7 separate regions of the Homo sapiens genome follow, and regions 2, 3, 4, 5, 6 and 7 are each linked to region 1. Evidence: promoter capture Hi-C in 16 types of primary human blood cells and fetal thymus (Javierre and others, 2016). All regions are on one chromosome and are shown on one strand. Each heading gives the region's core, a stretch centred on a gene start or on the middle of the fragment in contact. The rest is flanking DNA. Distances are from core to core; before and after follow the strand shown.

Evidence for each region. The method cuts DNA at HindIII sites, captures the fragments that hold promoters and counts their contacts. A CHiCAGO score of 5 or more calls a contact.
Region 2: a fragment that was not itself captured here is called in contact with the fragment with the promoter of CNNM3 in region 1 in 1 of 17 cell types (total CD8 T cells); the score reaches 5.0 in total CD8 T cells.
Region 3: a fragment that was not itself captured here is called in contact with the fragment with the promoter of CNNM3 in region 1 in 1 of 17 cell types (fetal thymus); the score reaches 5.5 in fetal thymus.
Region 4: a fragment that was not itself captured here is called in contact with the fragment with the promoter of CNNM3 in region 1 in 2 of 17 cell types (non-activated CD4 T cells and total CD8 T cells); the score reaches 6.0 in non-activated CD4 T cells.
Region 5: a contact is called between a fragment that was not itself captured here and the fragment with the promoter of CNNM3 in region 1, in 1 of 17 cell types (total CD8 T cells). The highest score is 5.8, in total CD8 T cells.
Region 6: a fragment that was not itself captured here is called in contact with the fragment with the promoter of CNNM3 in region 1 in 3 of 17 cell types (activated CD4 T cells, naive CD4 T cells and neutrophils); the score reaches 7.5 in activated CD4 T cells.
Region 7: a contact is called between a fragment that was not itself captured here and the fragment with the promoter of CNNM3 in region 1, in 1 of 17 cell types (total CD8 T cells). The highest score is 6.0, in total CD8 T cells.

The regions. Positions count from the first base shown.
Region 1 is chr2:96,814,684-96,817,697 of GRCh38, reverse strand. It overlaps CNNM3 (cyclin and CBS domain divalent metal cation transport mediator 3), which reads right to left and starts at 1,430. Exons shown (of 8, transcript NM_017623.5): 1 at 196-1,430. The coding sequence starts at 1,420. RefSeq lists silencers at 574-683, 694-833, 844-1,823 and an enhancer at 2,164-2,283. The HindIII fragment of the contact is 9,370 bases long and covers 1-3,014 here.
Region 2 is chr2:96,112,799-96,115,812 of GRCh38, reverse strand. ADRA2B (adrenoceptor alpha 2B) reads left to right here. Exons shown (of 1, transcript NM_000682.7): 1 at 1-2,937. The coding sequence ends at 1,016. Among named protein-coding and RNA genes, the nearest start is that of ADRA2B, 2.3 kb to the left of the region's middle. The HindIII fragment of the contact is 642 bases long and covers 1,201-1,842 here.
Region 3 is chr2:96,131,230-96,134,243 of GRCh38, reverse strand. ASTL (astacin like metalloendopeptidase) reads left to right here. Exons shown (of 9, transcript NM_001002036.4): 4 at 186-279; 5 at 702-819; 6 at 1,523-1,704. Among named protein-coding and RNA genes, the nearest start is that of ASTL, 5.8 kb to the left of the region's middle. RefSeq lists enhancers at 1,182-1,682, 2,685-2,914. The HindIII fragment of the contact is 2,736 bases long and covers 140-2,875 here.
Region 4 is chr2:96,163,955-96,166,968 of GRCh38, reverse strand. No RefSeq gene overlaps it. Among named protein-coding and RNA genes, the nearest start is that of DUSP2, 20 kb to the right of the region's middle. RefSeq lists enhancers at 1,822-1,901, 2,162-2,211. The HindIII fragment of the contact is 5,740 bases long and covers 1-3,014 here.
Region 5 is chr2:96,184,620-96,187,633 of GRCh38, reverse strand. STARD7 (StAR related lipid transfer domain containing 7) reads left to right here. Exons shown (of 8, transcript NM_020151.4): 7 at 333-417; 8 at 720-2,775. The coding sequence ends at 904. Among named protein-coding and RNA genes, the nearest start is that of STARD7-AS1, 22 kb to the left of the region's middle. The HindIII fragment of the contact is 6,166 bases long and covers 1-3,014 here.
Region 6 is chr2:96,231,994-96,235,007 of GRCh38, reverse strand. The region is part of intron 1 of STARD7-AS1 (STARD7 antisense RNA 1); the gene reads right to left. Among named protein-coding and RNA genes, the nearest start is that of SNORA112, 19 kb to the right of the region's middle. RefSeq lists enhancers at 757-906, 917-986. The HindIII fragment of the contact is 9,545 bases long and covers 1-3,014 here.
Region 7 is chr2:96,258,795-96,261,808 of GRCh38, reverse strand. The region is part of intron 2 of TMEM127 (transmembrane protein 127); the gene reads left to right. Among named protein-coding and RNA genes, the nearest start is that of TMEM127, 5.7 kb to the left of the region's middle. RefSeq lists enhancers at 620-869, 343-1,274, 1,275-2,208, 457-3,014. The HindIII fragment of the contact is 2,395 bases long and covers 315-2,709 here.

The DNA.
Region 1 (3,014 bases), core at 181-2,680:
TGATCGATGGCCTTTAAGTATTTCAAAAGGTCATTCCAAGCTGCAAGGCCAATACCGTCTTGAAAAGGGACCTTAGAGGTCTCACTGCTCTCCACAGGGGTGGGACCCTTTCCAGAAGGCTTCCATAACTCTCCACCCCTTTTCAGGGAGAGGGCACTCGCACGGGCGTCCCCTGCACCATGCCCGGGCCGTTACCTCGCTTGAATTCCTCCAGGACAGCGTCCAGCTTGGTGTCGTTGAAGACGAAGTGGAGCGGATGGTTGTAGAAACGAGTGATGGTGCTGAGCGGCGTGCAGTCTTCGGGATCCACGAAGGCCAAGTCCTTGAGGTAGAGCATGTCCACGATGTTGGAGCGCTCCTCCTCGTACACCGGGATGCGCGTGTGGCCGCTCTGCATGATGCTGGCCAGGACGCCGAAGTCCAGCACGGTGCTGGCGTCCAGCATGAAGCAGTCTTCGAGGGGCGTGAGCACGTCCTCCACGGTCCGGCAGCGCAGCACGCCCTTGCTGAGATCGCTGTAGGGGTCGCCGCCGCCGCGCGCCAGCTCCAGCACCCGCTCCCGCAGCCGCCCGGGCCGCGCCGCCAGCTCCAGCAGCTGCCCCACGGGCAGCGCGACGGGCAGAGTGAGCAGGACGGCCAGGCGGCTGAGGCCGAGCGCTCGCGGCGCCAGCGCCAGCGTCCAGCGCCCGCTCACGGCGGCCGGCACCACCTCTCCCACCAGGAACACGAGCCCCGCGCTGCCCAACACGGCGGGCACCGCACGCTGGCCGGCCGCGCGGTACAGCAGCACCGCCAGCGCCGCCTGCGCCAGGCTGGCCAGCAGCAGCAGCGCGCCCAAGGCGCAGCCGGCCCAGCGCCGCGCGGGCTCCAAACGCCGCGCCGCCGCACGCTCCGCCTCCGAGCCGCTCTCGCGCAGCACCTGCACCTCGGCAGGCGCCAGCGCCAGCGCGCTCAGCTGCAGGCCTCGCGCCAGCGCTGCCAGCGCCAGCAGCCCGGCCGCCCCCAGGCCCAGAGCCCAGGGCGGCGCCGCCTCCTCAGCCGCCCCGCCACCCGGCTCCACGCGCACCGCCAGCAGCGCCGAGTGCGGGCGCACGGCCTCGGCCCGCAGGCGCAAGCGCAGCAGCGCGCGCCACTCGCCCGCGGGGGAGGCCGCCTCCTCCCGGCAGCCCGCCCCCTCCGGGGCCACCCAGGACCAAGAGCTGTTGGCGAAGCCCGGGCCGAAGAGGCGCAGGAGGAAGGTGGCGTCCGGCGTGTCCCGCGCCGCCCCTCCGCGTACCCAACCCGCGCCCGCCGCTCCATCCTCCTCCAGGCAGAAGCCCAGCACTCGCGGGCCCGGCGCGGCCTCCCCCGCGGCGTTGCCCAGGCAGAGCGCGGCGAACAACCAGCCTAACCGACCCGCCGCAGCTACCGCCGCCGCCATCGCCTGCTGCCCCCTCTCGGCCTCTCGCGCAGCCTACCCCGCTCGCCCCGCGCCTCCCCGGGCCAATCGTTACGGCTCTTCGCGCCTCCTCGGCCAATAGGCGGTGGGCGGGGGCGGGCCCCAGGGTCGGACTAGGCTGCGCCGGGGAGTAAACAAGTGGCGGCCAGGGGCGGGCCGGGGGCGTGGGGCTCCGGGCCCCGCCGAGTCTGCTGCGGCTCCGGATGCGCGGGGTGGCAGTGGCCGGGAGGACGCGGGGCGGCGGGCAGGGCCTCCCAAGCCCGGCTGTCCTCGGCCCGTGCGCGGCGCCCGGAGTCCCACTCCTCCCGATGCTGTCCCCCGCGCCCGGAGGCCGAGCCAATTCTCTGGGAAGTTCCCGGCTTGGGAGCGGAGCGGCCGGTCGGAAGAACCTCGGGTGCTGGCGCGCCTGAAGTTGCAGACCAGACTGAAATGTGCGAGACATGTGCCTTTTTCTTAGGAAAGGCCCCAGGTACCAGAAAGGTTTTCAGCGCGCCGACCTACGGGGCTAAGAGGGCTGAAATAAGAACCAGTGACTGAGCGCCGGGAGGTTTAAGGTTTATGGAAGATGTTCATCGCGCCGTACCCTACTAGAGGTTTGGGGACGTGGGACACAGCCCCTGCGTTCCCGCCGCGGACCCCGTGATAAATACACAGACACACAAAATCACTACCGCCTTGAATCTGGACAGCTACCTCAGGTGGTTAATATCTAACAGGAGCAGAGTGGAGCTCAGAAAGACTCAGCGTGGGTGCTGGGTTCCGGCGCGACCAGCCTGATACCTAGGTCAGCATCTCAGCCACACAAGCAGGCGGCAGTTCTGTCAGGAATTACTACATCTGGTGATTCCACTTCTCATAGCTCACCGCTGGGAGAATAATTCCTCAGGATTAACAAGATCTATTCCAGAGGATCCTCACTGCTGAAGCGATTTTAGAAGACAGTGTGGTCTGTTGACAGTATGGAATATTCTTTACCCATCAGATATGATCTGTATGTGATTGGAAGGAAATAAACCAACTGCTAACAACACTTCTCTATAGATGTTCAGATTCAGTAATTTTTGTATTTTTCTCTACACTTTTGTTTTTTCAAATTTCCTAGCACAAGAAGACTTTGACTTACTGCACATGTCATTTTAAATGACCTTTATAAAGACTCTATAGAAACAATTTGCTATGTCATGAAAGTAACAATCAAAAAAAGTATGCACATTGTGGCCACAAAGTAAAACTTGTGTGGAAGGTAATGTGCAAAAAAAAAAAAAAATGAGTAAGCTGGTGGTGAGTGACCAAAGGAAAAGGCTTTGTAAAAAACTTTTTTTTTTTTTTTTGAGACGGAGTCTCGCTCTGTCACCCAGGCTGGAGTGCAGTGACGCAGTCTCGGCTCACTGCAAGCTCCGCCTCCCGGGTTCACGCCATTCTCCTGCCTCAGCCTCTCCGAGTAGCTGGGACTACAGGCGCCCGCCACCACGCCCGGCTAATTTTTTTGTATTTTTAGTAGAGACGGGGTTTCACCGTGGTCTCGATCTCCTGACCTCGTGATCCACCCACCTTGGCCTCCCAAAGTGCTGGGATT
Region 2 (3,014 bases), core at 272-2,771, 700 kb after region 1:
CCGTGAGCCGCGCGCTGGAGTACAACTCCAAGCGCACCCCGCGCCGCATCAAGTGCATCATCCTCACTGTGTGGCTCATCGCCGCCGTCATCTCGCTGCCGCCCCTCATCTACAAGGGCGACCAGGGCCCCCAGCCGCGCGGGCGCCCCCAGTGCAAGCTCAACCAGGAGGCCTGGTACATCCTGGCCTCCAGCATCGGATCTTTCTTTGCTCCTTGCCTCATCATGATCCTTGTCTACCTGCGCATCTACCTGATCGCCAAACGCAGCAACCGCAGAGGTCCCAGGGCCAAGGGGGGGCCTGGGCAGGGTGAGTCCAAGCAGCCCCGACCCGACCATGGTGGGGCTTTGGCCTCAGCCAAACTGCCAGCCCTGGCCTCTGTGGCTTCTGCCAGAGAGGTCAACGGACACTCGAAGTCCACTGGGGAGAAGGAGGAGGGGGAGACCCCTGAAGATACTGGGACCCGGGCCTTGCCACCCAGTTGGGCTGCCCTTCCCAACTCAGGCCAGGGCCAGAAGGAGGGTGTTTGTGGGGCATCTCCAGAGGATGAAGCTGAAGAGGAGGAAGAGGAGGAGGAGGAGGAGGAAGAGTGTGAACCCCAGGCAGTGCCAGTGTCTCCGGCCTCAGCTTGCAGCCCCCCGCTGCAGCAGCCACAGGGCTCCCGGGTGCTGGCCACCCTACGTGGCCAGGTGCTCCTGGGCAGGGGCGTGGGTGCTATAGGTGGGCAGTGGTGGCGTCGACGGGCGCAGCTGACCCGGGAGAAGCGCTTCACCTTCGTGCTGGCTGTGGTCATTGGCGTTTTTGTGCTCTGCTGGTTCCCCTTCTTCTTCAGCTACAGCCTGGGAGCCATCTGCCCGAAGCACTGCAAGGTGCCCCATGGCCTCTTCCAGTTCTTCTTCTGGATCGGCTACTGCAACAGCTCACTGAACCCTGTTATCTACACCATCTTCAACCAGGACTTCCGCCGTGCCTTCCGGAGGATCCTGTGCCGCCCGTGGACCCAGACGGCCTGGTGAGCCCGCCTGCGCTGCCCCTGTGGGGTTGGTGCGGTGGCGCCGGGGTCACCCTGCTTCTTGCCCTGCTGTGTGTGGCTGCCTCCCCTGGGCTTTCTGCTCCCTGCCCAGATCCTGTAGGCCTCATCTTAGGAACCCCTTGGGAGGGGTGGGCAGGGGGGCTGCTAGCAAGGGTCCCAGTGAAGCTTCCCCTTGCCGGCTTAGCTGTGGGGGACCCCTTCTCCACCCTCTCCCTGAGCACAGGCCGATGGAGGTGGTTCAAATCCTCTGGAACATAGCCAAGACCAGGAGAAGAGAGAGCACTTTCTTCCCAGAGCCCCATGCTCTCCAGACCAATGTCTGGGCTTCCCTTTCTTGAGGACCTTGTGTTCCTGGCAGGTCACTTGCTTGTGGTGTTTTCGTTTCTTTTTCATCTCCCCCCCACCCACAAAGAGCACGGAGCCAGCCTTCCACTTTTCCCAGTGGGGCCTGCTGCTGAGGGGGAGGAAGAAACGAAGACTGATCACCCACGCTAGGCACTCGCGGTCCCTGGCAGGCGCTGGGATGGGGGCTTATGGGGTGGCATCGTCTCTGGGCCCTCCTTTCCCCCTTTGCCTGTTTTCGGATCTGTGGTTCCTTTGAAAGCCAGAACAATGGATCGGCTTCCTTACCCAGCACCCCTCCGGTAGGTGGGTGGCCACGTGGATGCCTCGCTGGGGCGGTCTTGGAGGCCTGGTCTCTGCCTCGACGGGAGATCCCCGATCACTGGCATTCACCCCCTGCAAAAATCGGGGCGACAATAGCTCACTGCCTACTTGCTGCAGGGAGATGAAAGGCTTTGCAGAAAGCTTTGAGCTCTGTGGGGGAACACACTAGAGAACCAAAAATGTGATTATATGGTGATATAAAAATCCCTTTCCTCTGTGTTTACCACCACCTGTCTTCCTGTAGACTTTTGTTCTGTCCCTGGGGTGTGTGAATTCCTACCCCGAACTGGAAGCCGGGAGTGGCAGACAGAATCACTATTTCAAGTTAAAGGATCTCTTTGAGAATGTGTTCTTCTGGCTGCAAAGGTCTGAGTTATTACGCTACATGACAACGTTTCGACATTTCACCGGCAACACCAAGAGGGTTTTTAGTGGCTTGGGTCTCCCCAGTGGGGGATAAGTCTTTTGTCATCAAGGAGGCAAATTGTCTCCCCAAGACAGCTCAAAATATCCACACCTCGGCAACAGTCTAAGATGAGAGCCTGTGACAGGTGGCAGCGCCCCCAGGTGGGGTACTGGCATCAGAGCCTGGTGCGCCCCTAGGGGAGCCTCCCACTGGAGTGCCCGGCCAGGTCTCCAAGCCCCAAATGAGTCCTTGTGAACCACAACTGATCCCCCCAGGTGGGTGCTTGTGGACTGCCTCGGACCCAGCCACGCTGCTCCCCGCAATGCTGATGGGGCTGTGCATTGAGGACCCCTGCTTCCTGGTTCTCAGTCCCACCCCAAAACCTGGCACCCAGAACAGTTGGAAGTGTGGAAAGGAGGTTTATCGGCCTTCCCTTGGAGAGGGCCTGGCTTCAACATTGGGCCAGTAGGCATCTTAGCTTGGCAGGTGTCGGGGGAATGGGCCAGATGGACCTGCTAGATTTGGAAGGGCACCGAGGGAGTTTTCTGGGTGTAGAGAGAATGGAGGGGACCAAAAAGAGTCCTTCCTGGGGTGTGGGAGGCTTCCCAGCTTGGTCCTCAGTGGGTTGTTGAGGCCAGAGTATCGCCCTGGGATGTGGTGGGGAGCTGGGCCAGGAGAGGGACTGACTGTGACCCTCTGCTGGCCGGTCTTGTGTGCGCCCCATGGGACCCCCAGTGTTCTTGCCTGTGACCTCTTATTGCGACATGCAGGTGGTGTTTTTTTTTTTTTTAAACTCTGAGCTATTTTATCAATAAAGGATATTTTGTAATAAGTAAGTGGTGTCCTTGTTGCCCAAAGGCTGCCTGGAGCAGTTATTCCTCAGCTGCTGGCACAGCAGACTCTGGGTGC
Region 3 (3,014 bases), core at 258-2,757, 680 kb after region 1:
GGTTCATGTAGCTGGCCCCTTGCCTTCCACAGCTCTGTCCCATCTCTAATGGTCCCCCATTCCCATGCACACAGGTCCTGACTCCCACATCTTTGGGGTTCTGGTGCCCTGGGGTGTGGTACCCTTGGGGCACAAAGCTTGGGTGGCCTCTGTCCCCAGGGGTTGAACTGCTGCTCTCTCCTCAGAGTCCCTTCCGACTGCTGTCAGCAACCAGCAACAAATGGCCCATGGGTGGTAGTGGTGTCGTGGAGGTCCCCTTCCTGCTCTCCAGCAAGTACGGTGAGTGAGCATGGCGCGCTCCCTCCCTGCCTCAGCCCCTTCTTCCTAATGCGGCAGGTGTTCCTCTCTTCCCTTTTCCTCTTACACCATCACATCCCTTCCACCTCCCCACCCGAAGAACCTGTCCACAGATGCCCTTCTGTTGCTGAAGGTCTCCTGAGTAGGGAGGGTTAAAATCTGATGGGAAGGTATGTCGAGTGGGGATCTGGTTCCCCTTGAGACCATGCGGTGCAGAGGACAGTGACCTACCCAAGGCCACACAGCCAGGGTCTGTCTGGGGCCCAGCTTCTTCCTGGCACCACTAAGCTGCCCTTTCTTGATGCTATTTTGGGAGAGTGAGTTCAGAGCTCTGCTCCCAGACCCTCAGGTAGAGCTCAAAGACCACCAGGGCTCTGGGGGCTCAGCCAGGTGGTGTCTTCCAGATGAGCCCAGCCGCCAGGTCATCCTGGAGGCTCTTGCGGAGTTTGAACGTTCCACGTGCATCAGGTTTGTCACCTATCAGGACCAGAGAGACTTCATTTCCATCATCCCCATGTATGGGTAAGTGCCGGGGCCAGGATGCGTATCTCAGCTCGCTTCTGCGTTCAGCCCGGAATTAACTTGGCCATTGTCTAAAATGTATTCCTGGGCCCATCCTCCAGGGCTCAGTCTCCCTGCCCACCCTGAGGGGTCTGCCAAGTGTGAGCTGGACCTCCAGGGCGGAATGTGGGAAAGGGATGGGAACGGTGCTAGACCCTCCATTTACAAAGCCCTCCTCTCCCGGGGGACTCCATGAGGTGGTGAGGAGAGGAGGTTTTGCGGGGCAGACAGTGCGTGAGTCACTGAGTCCTGGCAAGTCCCCTAACTTCTGAGCCTCTTCTGTCCCCTCTGGGGTGCGAGTGGTGGCGATACCTGCTTCCTAGCTTGTCAGGGGCCTGAGGCAATTTGTGTGAAAGCCTTGGCTTAGGGCTGACCAGGAGGGTGTGCTCACTTAGTAAGCTGCTTCTGTCCTCTGTGTTCATATATCAGTTTCTGCAGCCTCCCTGCAGCCCAGGCTGGTGATGGGGGTCCGGTATGGCCATTTCACAGAAGTCCAGGCAGTAAAGGGGCCTGGAGAATGGTGAACCTGAGACTAGAGCCCAGAGTGGGGCCTGCCTGTTGGGAGTTTGTCTATCTTGTGTTGTGTGGGGAGGGAGAGCCCAGGTCTGTATGTCCGGAGGGATCTGGGCTGGCACTTACCCCACTTGCTCTCATCACCCTGCAGGTGCTTCTCGAGTGTGGGGCGCAGTGGAGGGATGCAGGTGGTCTCCCTGGCGCCCACGTGTCTCCAGAAGGGCCGGGGCATTGTCCTTCATGAGCTCATGCATGTGCTGGGCTTCTGGCACGAGCACACGCGGGCCGACCGGGACCGCTATATCCGTGTCAACTGGAACGAGATCCTGCCAGGTGAGCCAGGCCACACGCAGGACAGGCTGGTGCCGGGGAGGGGACAGCACGGCTTGGGCCCAAGTCGCCTGGTCCCCATGGGTGAGGCTATCCATCCTCCCCATCACCTGCCTGCTTCCTGTGGGGAAGGTGGGGGTCTCACTTCTGTCTGGTACCTGGTACCTGGAGGTGGTACTCTGGGTGCTGCTCTGGGCCCCAGGCCTTCCTCTACCCACCTGTAGTTGTGCCTTAGCTAGGGCGCCACCACCTGCTTTGTCTCGCTTCTCATCCCTGACACTGTCCTCTCCCTGGCGATGGGGCAGGCAGTGCCCATGATACCTGCTTGTTGAGTACTCTAGCAGCGGTCTCATGTACCAGATACCACCACCATGGACTGGGGCTGTGTGCCAGCTTGGGGAGCTGAGCCAAAGTGGGACCCCAAGGTAGCAGGCTGCACAAGCCAAGTGCTGGGCCACGGGCTGAGGGCAGCACTGTGGGGCTGGGACATGTGCCAGTGGTGCCAGTGAGCAGGCAGAAGGAACACAGACTGTGGCCATGGGAGAGTGGAGGCTGGAGGCAGGTGGGCTGTGGTTCCTGTGCTGGCAGCGGCTGTGTGGCGCCGGGGATCAGATCCTGGTGATGGTGGGGTCTCTCTCATTGTGGGCTTGATGGTCTGGTTCAGGAGGCAGGAAGAGCCCCACGAGGGAGGGGCAGAGGAGGTTTGGGTGGGAGTCTGGCTTAGGGGTTGGAGCAGGAAGGCCTACCGCAGGTGGAGGGCGTCCAGCACGAGACCTTTCAGGGCTGTCATGTTAGCCAGGTGAGGCAGCCAGGGAAGCTGCCTGGGCCCAAGGACCTTCCCAGGCCCCAAACACCGCTTTCTCAGTGGCTCTCAGCAAACATGAGTCACAGAGAAAGGGGTGACGGGGCACGTGGGTAGCACCTCACAAAGGGGGAGGGGATGGATATTGAATCAGACCAGGCTGGGGAGGTTGTGAGGGGGGTGACAAGTGACTCTGTACCCTGAAAACAGACTGATCCTTCCCAATGCTCGTGGAACAGTTGTGAAAGTTTACCCTGATAATTTTATGATATACCATGAAATGCCATGAAAACCTGCAACTCTGAAAGTAGACCAATGTAAACATTCTGATCATGATATAAAGTAGAAACCGATACATCAAAACCGAAAGCTTCTCCTATTCAGAAATTGAAAAAAACAACAAAACTTTCTTTCAGCTCTGGAGTTAAAGTACAGCAATTCTAAAAAAAAATCATGAAAGACTAGAAAAGCCAATGGTTCACAGCTAAAGCAATGCTCAGAGAAAATGTGT
Region 4 (3,014 bases), core at 344-2,843, 650 kb after region 1:
ATTGTTTATATTTTGTGTGTGTGATTTTTTTTCTTCTTTTTTTTTTTTTGAGATGGAGTCTCGCTCTGTTGCCAGGCTGGAGTGCAGTAGTGCAATCTCAGCTCACTGCAACCTCCACCTCCTGGGTTCAAATGATTCTCGTGCCTCAGCTTCCTGAGTAGCTGGGATTACAGGCACATGCCACTACACCCAGCTAATTTTTATATTTTTAGTAGAGACAGGGTTTCACCATGTTGGCCAGGATGGTCTCGATCTCCTGACTTCATGATCTGCCCACCTCGGCCTCCCAAAGTGCTGGGATTACAGGTGTAAGCCACCGTACCCTGCCTGTGCTTTTTTGTGTTCTAAGAAAACTTTGTCCAGTTCAAGATATAAATATTTTCTCCTATGTTTTTCTTCTATACATTGCATAATTTTAGATTTTACATTTAGGTCTTTGATCTGTTCCAGTTAGTTAATTTTTATATGTGGTGTGAGTTAAGGGTCTTAGATGACATTTAGTATGTCTCCAACATTATTTCTTATTTCGTACGAGGCAGAATGGGAGTCTCACTCCCCTATTATTTTCTCCCTCGCCTTATTCCATATACATTATAGGAAATGTGTTTTTGTTTTTTTGTTTTTTAAGAGGAAAGAGACAGAAAGATTTGCTAATATGGGGGTAGCCAGTATACTCCGTTTTTACTCAATAGTGTCATGTTGCTTTCCCTACATTATTTTTTTTTTATTTTTTATTTTTTAGATAGAGTCTTGTTCCATCACCCAGGCTGGAGTTCAGTGGCACAATCTCGTCTCACTGCAACCTCCACCTCCCAGGCTCAAACAATTCTCCTGCCTCAGCCTCCTAAATAATGGGATTAAAGGCATGTGCCACCACTCTCAGCTAATTTTTGTATTCTTAGTAGAGACAGGGTTTCACCATGTTGGCCAGGCTAGTCTCAAACTCCTGGCCTCAAGTGATCCACCTGCCTTGGCCTCCCAAAGTGCTAGGAATACAGGAGTGAGCCACCATGCCTGGTCAATATTATCTGCCTTTTATTTTTTATTTTTATTTAGTTTTTCCAATCTGGATGGTATAAAAGGGATATCTCAGTTATAATTTTGATTTCTCTAGTTACTATGGAGTTAAATATTTCTTGTCATACTTGTTAACCATTGGGATTTCCCTTGCATGAATTGCCTATTATAACTATAATCCTTTTTTATTTTTTTTTCTTAGAGACTGAATCTCACTCTGTCACCCAGGCTGGAGTGCAGTGGCCCCATCTTGGCTCACTGCAACCTCTGCCTTCCGGGTTCAAGCAGTTCTCCTGACTCAGCCTCCCGAGTAGCTGGGAGGGACTACAGGCACCTGCCACCATGCCTGGTTAATTTTTTATTTTTATTTTTTGTATTTTTGGTAGAGACGGGGTTTCACCATGTTGGCCAGGCTGGTCTCGAACTCCTGACCTCAGGTGTTCTACCCACCCTGGCCTCCCAAAGTGCTGGGATTACAAGCATAAGCCACTACGTCCGGTCGACTATATCCATTTTTATGTTGATATTTTTCCTGTAGTTCCCCTGGTTTTCTTCTTGATTTGTAAAAATTCCTTGTATATGCCAAAATATAATTTCATAATAGTTTATTTTATTTATGAAATTATAAATAGGGTCCATGGGAGTGGAGTGAACAGCGTACATGTCACTAACTGTCTGAAGGTTGAGGAGAAACTCAGGACCTAGGTGGTGGTGGGGTGGCCACCACCATTTAATAGACTGGAAAATAGGATGGAAGTTGGGGGTGTGGTGGAACAGGGCCACAGGGAGTGGGTTTTCACCAGTCGAAAAGTGGGCAGAGCCCTTCGGATGCGGCCGACTGGCTGTCATGCAGCTGCGGTGCCTGGAGAACTCAAGATCTCCTCCATCGACATGGCAGAGGATGAGCAAGTGGGAAAATCGCACAGGGCTTTTTATTGCCTGAGTCTGGAGGTGGTGTTTCATTGGCTGGAGTAAGTCACATGGCTCTGCCAAGTGTGAGAGGTCTGTGTAGGGTAAGCCTCTGCGTCTGGTAGGGAGGAGGTTGGGACCAGCGACTACCAGTCATATTCACTGCAGGATGTGTGCTGCGGTCTCCGGTCTCCTGGGGGCAGGCCCGGCCTTACAGCCCATCCCTGGACCCACCTCGGGAGGGGAAAAACTGCAGGGCTCTGGGAGCGCCGCCACCAGGGAAGGGCTGCTGGGATCAGCCGGGAAGGAGGAAGGGAAGGGGGAGAGGGGCTTGGGTCCCTTGATGCTGCCTGAGGAGGGCTGGTGGACACTGCCTGGGGCTCCCTGCCAGGCCCTATTGGGCTAACAGTAGGCTTTTGTTTTCAGTAAGGGACCTCCCCTCCTGCCTTTCGTTCTGAGGGCATTGCAAAGGGCTCAGAGAGGGGCAGCTCCACATAGGAACTGTGATGGGTTATGAGCAACGCATTTCTGTCTTCTGCCATCTTTTCTGTGTGTTCCAAATTTCCTAGTGTTGGGGGATTTCTGGGATAATTAGGGAAAATAACAAATGTGTGATAGACTTGTGCAGGGTGGTGTGGTAGGTGAGGCTCCGGCCCAGAGTGAGGGCTCCTTCCCCTGACATGGGCATCTCCAGGGCCTCCCTGCCCATCCCATGGGCATCCTTATTCCTGGCTCACAGCAGTGGGGTCACCTCCCCAGGGTTCCCACTTAGTAGCTGAGGAAAGTGGGGCTCAGCTGGCTTGCGGGCCCTGCCTGAGGCCACATGGTGTGCCTCCGGATGCTGGGCTGGCCGTCTCACTCCTTCCCCTCTGCCTTAGTGCTGGCCTAGGCTGAGGCTGCCCGGGAGACCACATTAGACACATTTGAAACCGTCTGTCTCTTCAGGAGAGCAGACTCAGATGTAAATTCCTTCAGCCCCCAAGGAGCTAAAAATAAGAGGCCTGTGCCCCTACAGCAACCCAGGAAAGGCCACGTGAAAACCCAGCAGCTGGGGGCGGAGGCTGGGGGCGCGGGGCCCAGCAGTGTTG
Region 5 (3,014 bases), core at 142-2,641, 630 kb after region 1:
TCTGCTTAGCACATACCAGAATTCCAAACCCTGCAAAGCAAAGCCTGTGTTCAGCATAAACCACGTTGTTTGCATAGTCTATGCACAGGGAGCCACCCATATCAGCTAACTGTTGACTGGGAGCGAAGTTGGCCAAGGGTCAACATTGCAAGGAGACCTTTCTATAGATAGTAGTCTCTCAGGCCTTCAGTGTTAACTCTTTTCTGCACAGGGTGAAAAAAGAAATGACACTCCCTGCTCCAGAATCAGATCATAGTTATTCTATGGTACTGGATATGGAGGTTGTGGTTGGTGATTCAGGGATCTTCATTTTTGCTGTTTTTCTTTTCCAGAATGGCTTTGACTACTTACTAACATACAGTGACAATCCCCAAACGGTGTTTCCTCGCTACTGTGTTAGTTGGATGGTTTCCAGTGGTAAGTAAGGGCAAGTATACAGGGCCTGGAACCTGGGTTGAGCATTTTGTTTTTCTCTATTTCCTAATGGGGAAATAAAACGTCTCTTCTGGTTCTTCTTTTTTTTTTTTTTCTGAGACAGAGTTTTCACAACCCATGCTTTGGGAACACATTCCGGGAGGCAGCTCTTATTCACAGGCTAGTCAGGTTGTGATCTTTATAAGGAAGAACTAGTTCCCTACCATCAAAGAAATAGGGTCTTCTCATTTTGAGCCTACTGTTGGTTTGTATGTCAGCTTAACCTGATTCTCGTCTCCTGACAGGCATGCCAGATTTCCTGGAGAAGCTGCACATGGCCACTCTGAAAGCCAAGAATATGGAGATTAAAGTAAAGGACTACATCTCAGCTAAGCCTCTGGAAATGAGTAGTGAAGCCAAGGCCACCAGCCAGTCCTCTGAGCGAAAGAACGAGGGCAGCTGTGGCCCTGCTCGGATTGAGTATGCTTGACAGGCTTTGGGATAAGAAGGGACAAGGTGCTTCTAGCCCTGTCTCAGTCCGTTATCACTCTGCTGTAGAAGGGGGACATGCCACATGTATTAGAAGGCATCTGCTGTAACTTCCAGTGCAAGATAATTCAATAACTGATGTCCCATTTCATTCAGAGCCCTTATTGCTCTTATCAAAACAGAAGAAGGCTACATTTGTGGGAGTGTTGTCATATTCTCAGGCCAACTGTTTTGAAATTCGGTATCTCACTGAGCTAATCTGGAACAAACCTCTCACCTCAGGCCAGAAGGGGATGACCTCCATTTGCTTCTCTGAGTAGTTTCCTCTGCTGACATTCCAAATCCCACCATCGATTGTGCAGCGCTTTGGATTTCCTTCAGTTCTCCAGGTCCACCTGGAAAGTATAGTTGGCCAGTTGAGTCTCTCAAATGAGGGGCTACTGGGAGTGCTCTTGGTAACAATCATGATGTGAATGGGTGTGAACGATACTTGGCTATGTTAAGTGCCTTGTCCGCACCTTGCTTTTATCTCTAGAGACATGAAGTTATTATTAATTTTTTTTTTTTTTAAGTAGAGATGGAGTTTCACTCTGTTTCCCAGGCTGGTCTTGAACTCCTGGGCCATGCCTGGCCAGGGACATGAATTTGTACAAAGAAATTTCCCTCCCTGCCTGCACAATATCACCCATTGACTCACCTTATCCAAAGCAAGTTTCCTGTGAATCGGCCAGTTCTTCTATATTCATTGGATCATTGCCTCCTTCCTAACCTTCCCCATTTACCAAGAACACTGGGAGACTAATCCTTTTAGATAGTAGCTTTTTGATGCTCAAAACATCACATTTAAATTTAGTTTAAAAATTTTTTAACTTTTGTGTCAAATAGGAGTTGAGGAATTGAGCAGGATTCTACCCTAGTCCGATTGTATAGAAAACACCATTTTGATTCAGGTATTATTTTTCATATTTCAGGTTTGACTTGTTCTTTTCAGAAGGCTAAAGTCAGAGGAATGGGGGCTGGGCCACTCCCTTGGAGCTCTCAGATCTACAGACAAGCTGTGTGAATGCATAGATGTAATCTTGTCTCAAATACTAATACAGTGGAGATTTGGTTTATGTTACCATTAAGTTCCTCTAAAAAGTTTTTCTTCCTCTCTTCAGAGCCAAAATAAAAGTGAACTACACTGTTCAGATAAGGTCACAATCTGATGCTGTCAGTTTGACCGAGCTGGTTTTGCTTATGGTCATGCTGCAATTTGTTAGAATAATAGGGATCAAGTTTTAAATCCTCCTCCTTCCCTTTTTTCTGGAGTCTTGAGGGCCAGAGTTTTTGTTTTTGTTTTTGTTTTTGTTTTCCTGCTTGCTACTGTTTTGTGGTGTTGAAAAGTGGTTTAAACCTGAGACTAACTTAAACACTTCCTTGACCTTCTTGTTGCCTGTTCATTTTTGTGCCAAGGAAGTAGCTGCCCCAGTGTATGTCTTGCCTTCTCCGCGTCATTGTTGGAAGAGGAGAGATGCATCGAGCAGTCCCAGCTGCTTTTCATTTATTACTTCTTCTTTCCAGGACCTGACAGAAGTCAGGGAAGAGTCCCTGGGTTATGTCCAAACTTAGCACCTGCAATTGTTGGGATGTGGATGGATGTGTGCATAAGAGAGAGAGAGAATATGTGTGTGTGTGTGTGCGTCTGCGAGCGCACACACATGCACAAGTGCGAAGGAGTTGCGGTTGCTCCATGTTCTGACTTAGGGCAATTTGATTCTGCACTTGGGGTCTGTCTGTACAGTTACTCATGTCATTGTAATGATTTCACTCCTAACTGTGACATTTTTATCAAATGTGTGAATAAATACATAAAGATTGGTACAAAAAAAAGTGTTTGTCTTTGGACAAATGGTGGTGGAAAAATCTTGCATATTGGACTTACCATTTCTTTCTGATCACAAAGTTGAAAAGAATTTTACTCTGAGAGTTGGGAGGTGGAAGTGGCAGGGCTTGTTCATTCTTGGTAGATAGTGGCTGACACAGTTTGCCTAGACCACGAGCCCTTTCCAAGTGACCTGCTTGGCAACTGAAAATAAACCACCTATGTCCACTTCCCTAGCTTGATATAC
Region 6 (3,014 bases), core at 262-2,761, 580 kb after region 1:
CCCAAAGTGCTGGGATTACAGGCTTGAGCCACTGCACCTGGCCTGAGTTGCTTCCATTTTCTCATTAAACAAAGCAAGTCATCAGCTGAGATGTGAATCTCAGTAATACTGTCTGTATCATGAGACCTGTCTCCTTGGCCATAATTACCACAACCGGACCGGGGATGAGCTCCTAATCCAAGTGAAGGCACTTGATTCTTTCTTTTGGGAGCTTGAAGTGAGGATTCAAAGACATCAGTGTCAATTAGTGCTCAAACTGGAAGGATTTGTAAATTTAGAAACTGGGTCAGACATTTTTCTTTATATAAATGGAAAAGCTGAGAAGATTAGGTAGGGGTTGGGTGAAAGAGTAAAGCAGAAAGGAAGTAGAAAAGTAGAAAGAAAATAAGAGTCCACATAGACTTGGAGTTGCAAAAGAGGAATTACTTAGGTTCCTGTCCTAAGGTTTGAGTCCTCTGAGAAGATGCCCAGATAGGACTAAATGTGCAAGAGATGTGCTGGGAAAACACTTGTGAAGCGAATAGCAGGAAGCCGGAAGAGCCTGGGAGAGCTGCAATGCAGGTGTAGCCCCTGCCAGGAGACAGGAATGGAGGAGGGCTGGGTTGAGGAGGTGTTAGAACGCAGTGTAGTTCTTTCTTTTTCAGAGACAGTCTCCCTTTGTTGTCCAGGCTGGCCTCAAACTCCTGAGCTCAAGCAATTCTCCTCCCTCAGCCTCTTGAGTAGCTGGGACTACACATGCCTAACCATGCCCAGCTTAGAACGTAGTGTAGTTCTAAGAAAGCTCTGCAAGAGCTGATGAGGTGTGCTTGTGCCAAAGCCACCTGTCAGAGGAGTCCCCATATCCCAGAAATGGGCCTGCCTTAGTATGGCAGGCCTGCACTCAGTCACCGGGTGGGAGCAGCTCACAAGAAGGGTGGTCTCAGTGCAAATGCAGTGGCAGAATTTCATAGCCCAGCAGCAGGGGGCCATGTTACGCTCCCCTGCATTCAGAGATGTGAGCAGTGCACTCTCATGGCCACAGCTCCCAATGCCTTTTCAGTTCCTTTTTCTACCACCTTATGATGCGCAAGTGCCTTTCCTGCCTGTGAATTCTGAGCTTCTTGAGACACTCCTGGATCTTTCAAATTCGATTCCATATTTATGCTTAAACTACTTTGAGTGGATTCCAAGTACTTGCAACAAAAACAACAACAAAAAACATAGATTGAAATAGTAACAAGGGGACTATAATCTAAATTTTCTATATAAGAGGGGATGGAAGGAGGTAATAATAATTCTAGCGCTTATTCCTTATACCCTGTAGAGGGTTCTACAGTTTGTAATGTATTTTAGCTTACACAATCTTATTTGAGTCTTACAACAACCTCTGAACACAAGTAAGGCTGGCATCATTATCTGTATTTCACAGATGAGGAAGCTGAGTTTCAGAGACAATACAAATTATGCTGAATTGAAAAAAAATGGAGGCCGGGCGAGGTGGCTCACGCCTGTAATCCCAGCACTTTGGAAGGCTGAGGCAGGTGGATCACCTGAGGTCGGAGTTCGAGACCAGCCTGACCAACATGGAGAAACCCCATCTCTACTAAAAATACAAAATTAGCTGGGCATGGTGGTACATGCCTGAAATCCTAGCTACTTGGGAGGCTGAGGCAGGAGAATTGCTTGAACCCGGGAGGCAGAGGTTGCAGTGAGCTGAGATAGTGCCATTGCACTCTAGCCTGGGCAAAAAGAGCGAAACTCTATTCAAAAAAAAAAAAAAAAAGACAAACCATATAAATGTTAGCCTCTACCTATAAAAGCAGTGAGCCAAAAGCAGCACTGCATTCCTGGAGAGATTGCAGAAATTAGTTCCACCACTAATCAATGATCTGAAAGACACAGAGCTGATGATTTCCATTCAGCTTAGCTCTCTAGCCTGTGCAGATCCAAGATGGATCCAAGAGAATGGCGTGGATTATTATAAACTCAATTAGGTTGTGACTCCAATTGCAGCTGCTATTCTAGGTGTGCCTTCATTCATGAAGCAAATCAATGCATCCCTTGGAGCAAAGTATGCAGCTATTGATCTGATGAATGCTTTTTTCCTCAGCAATTTTTAGTAAAGACCATCAAAAGCAGTTTGCTTTGAGCTGACAGGGCTAGCAATACCTATTCGTTATCCAAACTCAGGACTGTATCAATTCGCAGTCATCTGTCATCATCTAGTTTGTGGAGACCTTGTCCTCTTCTCTACTCCACAGGACATCACATTCATCTAATGTGTTGATAATATGCTGATTAGAAGTAGTAACTATTCTAGCCACCTTGACGAGATATATGTATGCCAGAGGGTGGGAAATAAATCCCACAAACATTCAGTGAACCTTCTGGGGGGCCTAACGGTCTGGGGCATGTTAAGCTGGGCCCTACTACCACTAAGAGGCACAATGCCCAGTGGTTTTGGATTTTGAAGGCAATGTATACCTCATTTCAATGTTCTTCTCTGACCCATTTTCTGAATAACTTAAAAGGCTATCAGTTTTGAGTGGGGCCCAGAAGAAAAGATGACATTGTCATGACAGTTCCTGACTTATGAAGGTTCAACTTAATTTTTTTTACTTCAGCAATGATGCGAAAGCGATGTGCATTCAGTAGAAGCTGTATTTCGAATGCTGGATTTTGATCTTTCCCTAGGTGAGTGATATGTGGTGCGATGCTCTCTCGTGATGCTGGGCAGCAGCAGTGAGTGCAGCTCTGCCAGCCACAGGATCACTAGGCTGGATGACCAATATTCTACAGTGGGCTGTATGGACGGATCACTTTGCCCAACTGTAGGCCAATGTAAGTGTTCTGGGCATGTTTGAGGTAGGCTAGGCTAAGCTATGATGTCCTGTAGGTTAGGTGTATTCAGGGCATTTGCAACTCAGGATATTTTCTTTTCTTTTTCTGAGATAGGGTCTCACTTTGTCTCACCAGGCTGGACTGCAGTGGTGCAAGCATGGCTCTCTGCACCCTCGATCTCCTGGGCTCAAGCC
Region 7 (3,014 bases), core at 263-2,762, 560 kb after region 1:
CAGCATCTTTATTTGGTAGGTACTGTTTCAGCCCCACTTCAAAAGGTCCCAGCTCAGGGAAGCTAGGTAGTTTGCTCAGCTAATCTGAGTGGACATTGACTCCAAAGTCCATACTCTTACTGCAACACCTTAGTGAGCTCCGAGTTTATTTCCCATCAAAGCTGCCTGAGGCTTATCACTTTCCTATTCTAGTTGAGTTTTATCATAAGCCCAGCCAAAGCTGTGCTTTTTGTCATAACTTCATCGCCTCAGTGTTGAGGCTTTAGTTGGTGATCCCAGGGCAAAGCCACTCTCCCATTGTCATTCACAAAGCTTCAGAGGCTTTAGCCAATGAAAGCTGGCTCCAAAGAACCCATCCTGGGCTGGGTGTGGTGGTTCACTCCTGTAATCTCAGCACTTTGGGAGGCTGAAGCAGGAGGCCAGCAGGATCACTTGAGTCCAGGAGTTCAAGGCTGCAGTGAACTATCGTCGTGCCTCTGCACTCCAGCCTGGGTGACAGAGTGAGACCCTTCCTTTAAAAAAAAAAAAAAAAGACCTCATCCTGGGTTTTCTCCACTGCCCCTGCAAGCGGTGCCTGCTTCTCACACAGCTCTCAACCTGGCCCTGGGTGGAGATAGACTCACACCTCTAGACCCCAGAAAGAGGGGCCGCAGATAGTCATTTCTTCTGAGCCTTTCTGCCTCTCAAGTGTGGCCACCAAAGGGCACTGGCAACAGCCCCAGGAAGCATCTTTGGAGAATGAGGAAGTTGGGGAGTAGAAGTCAGGTGAATCACAATTGACAGCAGCCACTGGAAGATCAAGGGCCTTCCAGGGAGAGCCTGTGTGCCTGATAGGTGGTGACTGGGGCAGCTGACACTGCCAGGCCCTGCGGGGCCTGTTGGTGTCTGTGGGATAACCTGGCTGGGCACTAGAGGGCTCTGTTAAGAGGCCTGTGTCGCAGGCCTGTCTGGAAGCTAAAAAGGTCACAGTGAGGAGACGCTGAGCAGGTTGCACAGATGCATAAAGAGGGATTGGGGCATTGGGGAAGTGTCTCTAATTCAGAGGGACTCCAGCAAGAAGGGAGGCGGGGTGGGACAGAAGTCCTTTTAAGCCTTTCTGCCTGCAGACTGTTTGGGTCAGGAGTGGTTAGAGCAATGGGCAGATAGACAGGAAGAGGCAGGACCTTCAAAACAAATCTAGCCTGGTGACTCACCAGTGACCTTGAGCAAAGTCAGTTCCATGGGATCCTATTACAGCTGCCTACTTCCCTGATGACTAGAGGGCACCGCCAAGCAGTGTTTACCAAAATCAACAGGCCAGAGCACAGCTGGAAGGTAGGAGGTGTTCTGTGTCTAGCCAGGGCATCGTGGACTGCACCACTGGCTTGAATTTCAAGTTAGGGTCCTGCGTTGCATGCCATTTCTCTCTCGAATAAAATCCTACATACATAACCTTCAGGGGTTTTCTTTAGCAATCCCCTCATGGGAGCAGGTGCTTGTTGCCTTCCCTGCTGTACCGACGTCTAGGAAGGGAGGAGAGAAAGACATTGAGATACTGACTCCAGAAGAGTCTCTGAGCTGGGCTCCAAGCCTGTCTAGGATAACTGCCTGTTCTTCCGGTGTGCTCTGAGACCCTCTGAGGAAAACCCACCTGTTACATGGGGCAGGCCCCTGGGGTATCTGTTAACGTTACCCAAAGGGAATTTCATATTTGGTTTTCTCACTAACCCTGAGGGTTTACTCACAGCTTTGGAGTGGGGAAAGGCAGTTATATTGAAACAAAACCTATTGGAGTTTTAGGTCAAAAGTCTCTTCTCTCTATCATATTGTCATACTTGTAGGGTAGGCCCTTAGTCTGGCTTTAGTAGGCCTTGGTCCACACGGGCTGACGTGTGGTCAAGGAAGTCTTGGTAGAAGAAGGAAAGGCATGCTGAGGTGACACACTGGCCCAGCTGAAACAGCCTCTGGTTAATAACAGCACAGGTGGCTGCTCTTTCATGGGCACGGTGTCAGCTGACCCAGCATGCCCTGGTGGTGGGTGGGGCAGATGTTATTGTTTTCATTTGATAGATGAGAGAACAGAGGTCCAGCGCACTCAAGGGACTTGCTCAAAGTAACACAGTCTCTGCTAGAGCTAGGATTCGGCGCCAGGTCCCAAGCCTTTCCGGTGTCCTGACCACTTCCTAGAGCAGGCTCTGATGGTTGCAATGCTGCAGGAGCTTAGACACCATGCCTGGCAGGTTTTGCCCAATAATTCCCCATGTGAGGACTTAATGACCCAAACCTTTTTTGCTTCTTAGAGAGATTTCATTGCTTCAAGCTGTTCCTCTAGTGAGCTTAGCAGCTGGCTCTGAGGATGGCTCCAACAGTATTCCTGTTAGCTTCTGACCCCTCATTCACGCACAACTCTTTAGGAATTGATTGATTATCTCCAGGGAAAAATACAGTGGCCGAGTCTGGTACTTAGTGATTCCGAGCAGCACAGTGTAGGGGAGCCTGATCATGGTTTGGAATCTAGCTCTGCAGCGTGTGGCCTGGAGGAAGCCACTTCACCTTCTGGAGCCCCCGACTCCTCATCTGAGCTGTGTGGTAAATCCCCCAGGGGGGCACTTCACCCATCTGTGTGCACAGGCTGTTCCAGGAGGGGTATACAAGGCCCCTCCAACAATATTTGCCTTTGGAGAGGAGCAGGTGGACATCCGCAAGGGGAGGGATGTCCTCTTGGAAGCTTTTTATCATGTGCATGTCTCCTTACTAGTAAAATTCATGTATAATGAAACATAAGACAATAGGAGTATATGTCATGGATGTACATTTTTAAGGATAATCAAATGAACATCCTTGTGCTCACCATCCAGCCAAAGAAACAATACAGGCTCCTTGAAGCCTGCACATATTACTTTTCTTACTCCAACTGCCTGGCCTCATCAGTAATGTGAGTGGAATCTGACACGGCCTACTGCAGAGCGGCATGTGACCTCTGGTAGGTTATTCTTGGAAGCACTATAAGAACACTGCCCCATCCCTGCCACATG